2 separate regions of the Homo sapiens genome follow, and region 2 is linked to region 1. The links are contacts of gene promoters, found by promoter capture Hi-C in human tissues and cell types (Jung and others, 2019). All regions are on one chromosome and are shown on one strand. The core of a region is centred on a gene start or on the middle of the fragment in contact, and the rest is flanking DNA. Distances in the headings are between cores, read along the strand shown.

Region 1 (5,422 bases), core at 1,495-3,994:
TGGCCAACCATTTGAGATCCGGAACCACTTGATATTCACCTGAGGGCTCAACTACCATTTGACCTTCCAGGTCCTGTCAAAGAGGATCTTTAATTTAAATGAAAAATAACTGTGTTACTTTTCTTATTATCAAATTAATACAAGCAAAGACATCAGAAAATGCAGACAAGCAAAAAGAAAAAAACATCATTAACAACAGACAACACTCCATCTCACTGAGATAACCACTAATACCATCATTATCTTTCCAGCACTTTAAAAATAACTCTAGTCCGGGCACCGTGGCTTGCACCTGTAATCCCAGCACTTTGGGAGGCCGAGGTGGGCAGATCACCAGGTCAGGAGTTCAAGACCAGCCTGGCCAACATAGTGAAACCCCATCTCTACTAAAAATACAAAAAATTAGCCGGGCGTGGTGGTGTGCGCCTGTAATCTCAGCTACTCGGGAGGCTGAGGCAGAAGAATCTCATGAACTCGGGAGGCGGAGGTTGTAGTGAGCCGAGATGGCAGCGTTGCACTCCCGCCCAGGTGAAAGTACAAGACTCTGTCTCAAAAACAAACAAACAACAACAAAATTAATTATTCAAAAACTATGCAGTACTTTAAAATTTTTTATGTATCATGAATATCTCTAGTCGCAATATTCATCTGCAACACTAATTGTCATAGTGTGATCTGGGGCTGCTAGGGAGGGATCCCAAGACATTTTCAGGAGGTTGTGAGCTCAAAATTATTTTAATTTTAATTCTAAGGCATTATTTGACTTTTCACCCTCATTCTCTCACAAGCAGAAACTACATAATACATGATACTGCAACAGTTTGAATACAGAAGCAGATATAAAAACAGTGGCTATTAAGTTTGATGTTAAAGGCAATAGCAAAAATCTAAAACCACGCTGTTCTTCCTACTGTTTTAAAATATATACTTATTTTTCATTAAATATTTGTTATCATATAATGGGTTTGTTATTTTTAAATGAAATAATGAATATGTAAAAAATTGTTTTAATTTTGAAAGTATTAACAGATGTAGCACACATACACAAAACCTCTTTGGCATGCTCCATAATTTTCAGGAGTGTAAAGGGATTCCGAGACGAAAAAGTTTGAGAACCTCTGATCTGCGGTATCACTTTTTAATGGCTGAATTAGTGCATTGATCGGAAGTTTCCTAATTCACTTAACTAGTATATAATGCCAAGAATAAGATTCTTATACTTAAATTTGGGTATACCCTTAATTATTTCTCTAGGATAATTTTCAAGGATGATTTTTAAAACCCATATTTATTGTACAAAAGTGGGCTAACATCAGTAATGCAATCCACCCCCAGCCAATCAGCTGTTTTCATTCTGTTTCCTTCCAATCAACAAAGGTGGGTGGTAGGCATTTACGATTTACCAGCATAAGGGTTTGACACTAGGTCATCATTTCCAAGGGAAGGTGCCCCGCGGACGGTCTGGTCTAGCGGGCTCTAACTTAATCACCCTGGAATCTTCTTTAAAAAGCAAATTCCGGCCGGGCACTATGGTTCACACCTGTCATCCCAACGATTTAGGAGACCGCGGTGGGAGGATCGCTTGAGCCCCGAAATTTGAAACCAGCTTGGGCAACATAGCAAGACCTCCATATCTACAAAAAAATAAAATATTAGCCAGGCGTGGTGGTGCGCGCCCGTAGCCCCAGCTACTCGGGAGGCTGAGGCGGGAGGATTGCTTGAGCCTAGGAGGTGGAGGCTGCAGCGAGCCTGATGTTGTCACTGCCCTCCAGCCTGGTGAGAGTGAGACCTTGTCTCAAAAGAAAAAAAAAAAAAAGCAACCCAGAGTTGTGGGAAAGAACTGAGTGTCATTCTCAATGTTTTTAACCTACGTGCTAACCGCGCACCTTCTACCTAGGCTGCGCGACCTCCGCGCCCGGATCCATGGCGCCCCCTCTTCTCGACTCCCGATGCAGAGCTCCGATGCAGAGCTCAGCGCCAGCCACTCACAAGGAGCCTGGCAAGTTTTATCGAATTGGTGAACGAAGTTCGAAAGCTCTACCCTTGGAGATCCTTATTCAGTAGGTCTGAGGTAGACCTAGGAAACGCGCATTTTATATAAATCCTACCTCTGACGGCAAACGACAAGGGGTTCACGTGCCAGCTCTCCTCGGCGACGCGCTAGGCTACTCAGCGCCCCGAGCCTCGGCCTCGCATCGCTAGAACCCGGCCATGGCCGCTTCCTTACAGGGCAGCTGTGAGGAGTCCTGAGGAATTTTAGTACACGGCATATCCTCAGCGTAGTGGCTAGCACATCACAAGGCTTTAATCTTAACACTGTTGATCTTAACACTGCAACTGAGGGGGCCCGGAGAATGGGCCTGACAGGAGGGTCTGTCGGAACCTGAGGGACTGGGGATCCCGGTGCGGAGAAGCGCGAAGGGAAATCGCGTTGAGCAGCTGGGGTGGGTGCGCCTGGGGGCGTGGCCTGCGGGCCGGCGGGCGGGCGGGAGCCTGCGGTGGAGGCGTGGCACGAGGGAGGGGCGAAACCGGGTGGCGCGGAGGGGGCGTGGCGTTGGGAGGGGCGGGGGGAGTGGGCGGGGCCGAGATGGGGGCGTGCGCGCTGACAGGAGCGCCGGGGGAGTGAGAGACGCCTCCTGGCGGGAGCTGGCGGCTGTGGACCCCAGCGGGGGCGGAGGGGAAGAGGGGAGCAGGGGCGGGGAGCAAGGAGCCGGGAGGAGGGCGGCGGGCGGGCCTGTCTCTTTAAGGTGCCCGAGGCTCGCGGGCGCTGCGCTGAGGGGACGGCGGGAGGCGCGGCCTGGCCTCGCACTCAAAGCCGCCGCAGCGCGCCCCGGGCTCGGCCGACCCGGCGGGGATCTAGGGGTGGGCGACTTCGCGGGACCGTGGCGCATGGTGAGTGGGAGCGGCTGGGGGGTTGTGCAGCCTCTTGGCCTCTTGGTTGGGAAGGGGCCGGGCGCCGAGCTCGGCCCTCTAGAGGCCCGGGGCCGCGGCGAGCTTCGCGGGGGCCGGGAGAAGCCTGGGCCCGGCTGCGCGGAGGACAAAGTGGGGGTGCTGGGCGCGGGCGCACAGGCCGGACGCCGGGAGCCAGCAGCATCTCTGCGCCGCTTTGGTCCAGACCATCTCTGGGCCGGCCCGCGTCCTCCGCAGCCCGCGTCGGCCGAGCCGGGGTGGGGGTGGTTCCGGGTGCCCGGTCCCCCACACCGCTACCGGCCTCTGCCTCGCGGGGCGTCCGGCGCCTTCGGGGCCCTGGCACCGCTCTACAGAGGCTCGGCTCTGCCCTGGTCGCTGTCAGTGCCATCTCCCTTAACGAGAAACTTGGGCGTGATGTATGCGAAACAATTTTGATGCATGATGGTTTCTAACTCCTTAGGAAAAGATAAGTCCTTTAATTCTATTACCTGATTTCGACATGGTCGTAGTTACTTGAATACTTTTTCCAGTGAAATTTGGGGAGTAAGATGAATTTGTGGAACATTTCATAAGACAACCGTAAAAGATGGGAAAGGGGGGAAATCCCAGTTTTCATGGTTGTAGGATGAAAACTAGTTCCACGACAGTTAGTCTCCAAATAACCTTATTTGGCCTCCGCAAATATGTACTGGTTGCTCCAGAAATCATCCTACTTGGTATGCGGCGTTAGATACATTAGAAAATTAGTTACTAACGGTCTTTAGGGAATGCTTTGTGAGCCTCAGTAACGATCACCAGGGTTTTCTCTTTCAAAATTGACTCATACCAGGTCCAAAGCCCTTTATTCTTTTCACCCTTTTATTATTTTTCCTTTAATGTACTTTGTAACACTTAGAATAAAAGTTTAGAGTAATCATAAATGCCCCCATAAACTCACTATTTATCCCTCTTACGTCAGTAGTCATTTATTTTAATTTATTATGTTTGATAGGGAGGTGTTTTAACCTGAAGAAATGATATCTTCCCGTATTTAAAGTTTAATAACTGTATACTGTTTGGCCCCTGTCAGACTGTGTTTGTGCTAGTCTTTTTTCCTTCTTCTTTTTGAACTGTAGTATCTTCTTAATAACTTTGAAGAATGTGTGGTACTAATAGAATTAAAAGAATATCTTGGCCGGGCGCGGTAGCTCACCCCTGTAATCCCACACTTTGGGAGGCCGAGGCGGGTGGATCACCTGAGGTCAGGAGATCGAGACCAGCCTGGCCAATATGGTGAAACCCCGTCTCTACTAAAAATACAAAAATTAGCGGGGCGTGGTGATAGGCTCCTGTGATCCCAGCTACTCGGGAGGCTGAGACAGGAGAATCGCATGAACCCGGGAGGCGGAGGTTGCAGTGAGCCGAGATTGCGCCACTGCACTCCAGCCTGGGCGACAGAGCGAGACAACGTCTAAAAGAAAAAAAAAAAAAAGAATATCGTCACATTCTAATAATTACCTAGAGTTTTTAATGCAATTAGTAATTAAACAGCCTTTTGTTATTTGCTCAATTATTTAAGAAGTGACTCTGTGGACTCTACTTCTTGCTTTGAGCTGCTTTATTCTGTCTAAATAAGCCTGAATAATTTCCATTTAAAATTTTGTTTTGATTCTAAGAATTAAAATTAAATATCTTAAAATTATAATACAATATTAATAGTTTTATATGGGCTTACAGTTGAATAATGGACCTAAAATTAAAGTTGAATAGTAGCAGTGCAGTATTGAAGCTAGTTATTTGCCTGATATACTCTCAAGTTACTGAGGGTTTAGATATACTCACTCTACTTTCACAGTCACCATTTCTGGATAGTCTGAGGAACTGTAGAGTTCTAGGTCCTTGAAGATGGCTATGAAGCCATTATTATACAAAATTATTGTTTATTTTTGAATGTTTATATAATCTTTCATTGAGAATGATCTTTAAATGATCACTCAAAAGTTTTTTGAAGGCCAGGCATGGTGGTATTGTCTGTAGTCCCAGATAACTGGGAGGCTGAGGTGGGAGGATCACTTGAACCCAGGAATTGAAGGCTGCAGTGAGCTATGATCACACCACTGTACTTCAGCCTGGGCAACAGAGCAAGACTCTAAAAAAGAAAGAAAAAGTATATTGACACAAACAATGAGTCTTAGTTTATGTTTTGTTTCTCATTTTTATATTTGTTTTTACCCTAGCACTTGCCTTTGAATTAAAGTTGTGTTTGTTTGTTTAGTTTCCTGGGAGTTACTGATCATCTTCTTTGAAGAAACATGAAGTTACACTATGTTGCTGTGCTTACTCTAGCCATCCTGATGTTCCTGACATGGCTTCCAGAATCACTGAGCTGTAACAAAGCACTCTGTGCTAGTGATGTGAGCAAATGCCTCATTCAGGTAGGACTAAGAGTACTTTTATTAATATCAAAATATATTGTAGAGCAGAAACATTATGTTTATATACAGATATAGAGTGCATATATCATATAGAGTAA
Region 2 (5,144 bases), core at 367-2,866, 340 kb before region 1:
TATTTCTTTAAAGAAATAATTTTATAAATAGAGACAGGGTCTCGCCATGTTGCCCAAGCTAGTCTCGAACTCCTGAGCTCAAGTGATCCACCTTCTTTGGCCTCCCAAAGTGCGGGCATTACAGGCGTGAGCCACCACACCTGGCCTATTTGAACATTCTTTTAAAAATATTACTATAACCCAGCATTTTGGGAGGCCGAAGCAGGTGGATCACTTGAGCTCAGGAGTTCAAGACCAACCTGGGCAACATGATGAAACCCCGTCTCAGTTAAAAAAAAAAAAATTCCTATAAATGCCCAGTTCCTCAAAATGCTTTCCCAACCAGTTTTACCACCTTACTGAATCTCTCATTAATGAACAAATATTTGACATGTGCTAATTGTATATTTGTATGAGAGTCATGTTTTTAACTTTTTGAAAATTATGCTTTGACAGAATAAATTACCAGAAATAGAGCTTGGCTCGGTACATCACATGTCCTCAGACCAAGAACAACTATGCTGGAGAAGCTGTATTTCCTTCACCATCACTGAGGAGCCTCATCTGCACCTGGAATGAATTAAGATATCAATGTCCTATTTTGACTGCATGCTGTTTAGAAATGAGATTTTGAGAAGTCTTAGGATAGGGTGAGTGTATTTTTGTATGTGGAAGGGAATATAAATAATTTTGGGTCAGTGGGCAAACAGAGGGGTTTTCAATAATTCTTTGACACCCCTCCCTTCTGTGGAGCTAATTCCCCTCCGCTTGAGTGAGTCACCCGGTGACTCATTACTAAGGAATAGAATGTGGCATAAATGATAGAGCATGACTTCTTTCTTTCTTTCTTTCTTTCTTTCTTTCTTTCTTTCTTTTTTTGAGACAGGGTCTCACTCTGTGGCCCAGACTGGAGTGCCATGGTGCAAGCACAGCTCACTCGGCTTCAACCTCCTGGGCTCAAGCGATCCTCTCACCTCAGCCTCCCAAGCAGCTGGGATTACAGGCACACACCACCATATCCAGACAATTTTTGTATTTTCTGTAGAAACAGGAGTTTCACAGTGTTGACCAGGATGGTCTTGACTCCTGGACTCAAGTGATCCTGCCACTCCAGCCTCCCAAAGTCCTGGGATTACAGATATGAGCCACCAGGCCCAGCCTGACAGAACATGACTTCTGAGGGTAGGTCATAAAAGACATTGTGACTTCCAGTTTGCTCTTTGATCACTTGTCTAAAGGAAGTCAGCTGCCATGTCTCAATGACACTCAAGTGGCCCTATGGAGGGGCCCAAAACAGCATCCTCCCACCAATAGCCATCGAGGAACTGAGGAACTGAGGCCCTTTGCTAATAGCCATGAGTGCACCATCATGAAGTAGATCTCCTGCCCCTGTCAAGCCTTCAGATGACTGCAGCCCCAGCTGACTGCTCAACTGCAACCTCATGAGAAACCCTCAGCTAGGACAACCCAGCTAAGCTATTCTCAAATTCCACAGAAACTGTGAAATAATACATGCTTATGTTTTAAGCAATTAAGCTTTGGTTAATTTGTTACACAGTAATAGATAACTAATACAGCTGGCTTATCAGGCATGTGTAGTTTAAGACTTTTCATACAGATTGCAAAATTGCCTTCCTGAAATGTTATGCCAATTTACACTCCCACGAAGAGTTGCATAAGAGTGCTCATGTTCTCAGTCCTTCCTCTTGTTAAGTGCTACATTTTTAATTTATTCTTTCTGATATTCTTTATTCTTTCTGATAGAAAATGGTATCTTATTACTCTGATTTATATAGTTTTAAAGTTCAATGAGGTTGAACGTTTTTCATATATTTATTATCTGTTTTGTGACTCTCAATCAAATGCTGTGTGTGTGTGTATATATATATATTAAATTGTAGTGTTAATTTTTTTCATTCCTTGATTCCTAAGGTCTATTTGGCTTTTAACATCTTATATCTACCTGTTACTATGTTGCAAGTATTTCTCCTAGCTTGCCACATAGATATCCTTATGTGGGGGACATGAAGATGTACTGCCTGCAACCCTTTCAAGGAAGATTTGTGGCAGCTGTCTCTTGCCTCAGTTGCAGAGAGCTGCCTTGCCCAAGAGTATGCTCTTCCTGTGACCCATATCCATTGATCAATTGTTGTAGGGTATAAAGGTCCAGCCATTTCAGCCCACCATGGTCCTGCTCTGGCAAGCCATTGACACTCCCGAGCTCTCCACAGGGTAGCATTGCTGAGCTGCATTGTAGTTCGACCACTCCCCTAAAGAAACCCTGCTTCCTTCGTCTCCTTTCCATAGGTGTCGATCTCTAACAAACACGGTGCCCATCAAATTTCAACCTAGCATCTTTTTCTAGAATACTTAACCTGTGACATCCTGGAAATTAATTCCTCAACTTGTAATTGATATAATATCTATATACCTCTACACATAAATGTATTACTCTTAAAAATAATTTATTATGTTTTTTCATAGGGGAAACTGGTTCTTTTATAGAATGATTATTGGAATAAAAACACAAAAAGTTGAGTGTTATTTAAAAACACAAAGTCTTTCCCTATCAGCTACTATGCAAATCCATTATCTATATTACATTTCTTCAAATAAAATCACTTCCTTACCCTGCGATATCTCCCCTGTCACTTACTATCCCCTTTATCTTGTTTTTTTTTCTTCACAGCATTTTATTTGAGTATCTTTTACATCTGTATCTGCCTCCCCAGCACCTAGAATGGAACATGGCATATAATGTGTTCAATAAATATTGATTGAATGGATAGATGAGTAGATCAATAAAGGAGTAAGTGACATTTGGGTAAAGGTAGATAAAGTATATCCAGACCAATACCATATTTGTCCTCCTTCTTCCAGGAAAATGAAGCACAGTATTAATTTGTCTCATACAGAAGTTACCAAAAATATTTATTGTATGTGCACAAATGTATCCAGACCACTCTAGAAACCATCTCTTCTTTGATCTCTTCTTTCCCCCAGCCTTTCCTCTTTTTGCAGCCTGCAGGACTGCCTAGCTTCAAGGGAGCTGAGAGGAAGGTTGTGTTCAGGTGATCAGGAATGGTAACAGATGGTTGGATGCCCTCATTTTGCAGATGCCTCTATATTTGTGCTGCTTAAAAGCATTTTAACTAGTATAGAGCAAAACATGTATTATCTTTTAGTTGCAGCCCTAGTTTCTAGAATCCCGGATTAGTGACTAGCCCCCTAAACCTCACAGCCACTAATCCACTGGGATGGCTCCTCTGCCTCTGTTGACGTTGGGTGCTTTCAGCCCCCAGTGAATTCTGCCTCTTTAATCTTGTTTGGTGCTGATTTTTTTTTTTCTACCATTAGCGCTTTGGATTGGAATGTGGTTGCCTCATATTTTTTTGTCAGACTCTTTACAGACAAGCAAATAAACTTGGAGAGGGTAAGTAAGGTAACACAGGAGATCTGAGATAGAGCTAGGACTTTTGCCATCTATCCTTGTCATCAAAAGCACTCATTAATCTTATCGTCATTCTGTGGCAGGGTGGTGGAACAGCACAGGTCAATTTAGAGATTCAGGACAATGGGGAACACTCACTCTCTCCAGTTCTTTTGTGCAAACAGCTGACCTAAGAATAAAACTTAAGCATCCAGAATGTCATAAAAGCACAGTCTATGTTCATATTTAAGTTCATCTGCAGCATTTTTGTCACTTTTAGCTACGATTAGGATGCCTTTAAAGCAGTTATTGTCCAATAGATTTCCATTTGAAGGAAAGGATGTTTGTCATGGTAAGTAATTAAGTAATAGAACATTTCTTAGCTTCTAAGGGAAACCTTTCCAGGTTAAGTAATTTGCAGAGGGGGAAATGTCATCTTTTATTTTTTTTCTTCAGAAGGAATTGATTAGACAGAACAACTACAGGAAACCCCAAATGTTGAAATCAGCAGGAGACCTTTAAATTGCACAGAATCAAATTTCTAAAAACATAATTCTACCTGTATTGTTGAAAATAGAGAGGCCAGATGCGGTGACTCATGCCTGTAGTCCCAGCACTTTGGGAAGCCGAGGCAGGTGGATCACTTGAGGTCAGGAGTTTGAGAGTAGCCTGGCCAACATGGCGAAACCTCATCTCTACTAAAAATATAAAATTAGCCGGGCATGGTGGTGCATGCCTATAAGTCCCAGCTACTCGGGAGGCTGAGGCAGGAGAATCGCTTGAACCCGGGGGGCGGAGGTTGCCGTGAGCCAAGATCGCGCCATTGCACTCCAGCCTGGGCAACAAGAGCGAAACTCCGTCTCAAGGAAAAAAAAAAAAATAGAGCTCAAAAATCCATTAGCTCTTTGCATTTTCCCCCATTTTGTAATTATTGTTATTGCTTTATGCATTGTGAAGTCTCTATTATGCGAACCCCATCGGGGGCTGCTTTTCCATCACGATCAGCTCATTGGTGCTGTCAGCATAGAGCTCCCGGGAGGCCTCCCTGAGAATCTAGTGGAAAAGAAAGGAAATGTGAGCTTGAGGAGTCTTGCTAGCAGTGACTGTTGCCGTGCCCACTGGAGCTATGCTTAACCTAAAGATTTCAGGACTCTGACCTACAAAAACATCTCAGGCAGGACGCCCAGGTTTTGGTGTCTTTTTCACGCTTTTTTTCCCCAGGAACATGACCAGCCACATTTTAATGGCCATAGAGAAAACAAAATTTTTTCCCCTGGTGCCAGTTATTTTTGTTGAGTTTGTCGTTTTAAGATAATTGATGTAAAAAAAAAAAAAAAACATTTATCCAGGGAAGGCAAGAGCAGAAAAGAACCTGATAAATCCTCCAAGGAGGACTAGGGGATAGAAAGTAACATTATAGCCATGAAGAACCTAATTGTGCATCCAGCAATAATTTCTGCTGTATAAACTAAGATTTAAAGATGTCTCTCAGGAAGCAGGAAAATAGTGGGATGTCCCATAGAGGACATGAGCTTTGACACTGAAAGACTGCTGTCCGCCGCTGCCTGGGACCACTGAAGACAGACAAGCTTTCCAGCATGAATTTTGGTTAATATAGTGAATTATATAGACATGAAAGAGATTTACTGCCCTCTCACACCATCTTTCTCTAAACACATAAACATTCAAGATAAAATAGAACCCCCTAAAAATAGATTGAAATGCAGAGCCCAGC

What was found. The method cuts DNA at HindIII sites, captures the fragments that hold promoters and counts their contacts. A contact is called where the count stands out against the background at its distance.
Region 2: a fragment that was not itself captured here is called in contact with the fragment with the promoter of TWSG1 in region 1 in 1 of the 25 tissues and cell types used here (dorsolateral prefrontal cortex).

The regions. Positions count from the first base shown.
Region 1 is chr18:9,332,029-9,337,450 of GRCh38, forward strand. It overlaps TWSG1 (twisted gastrulation BMP signaling modulator 1), which reads left to right and starts at 2,745. Exons shown (of 5, transcript NM_020648.6): 1 at 2,745-2,892; 2 at 5,165-5,324. The coding sequence starts at 5,202. TWSG1-DT (TWSG1 divergent transcript) reads right to left here and starts at 2,441. Exons shown (of 3, transcript NR_183523.1): 1 at 2,109-2,441. RefSeq lists a silencer at 2,446-3,235 and enhancers at 3,033-3,533, 3,296-3,345. The HindIII fragment of the contact is 24,059 bases long and covers 1-5,422 here.
Region 2 is chr18:8,995,625-9,000,768 of GRCh38, forward strand. No RefSeq gene overlaps it. Among named protein-coding and RNA genes, the nearest start is that of NDUFV2, 100 kb to the right of the region's middle. RefSeq lists an enhancer at 1,929-2,430. The HindIII fragment of the contact is 3,280 bases long and covers 1-3,256 here.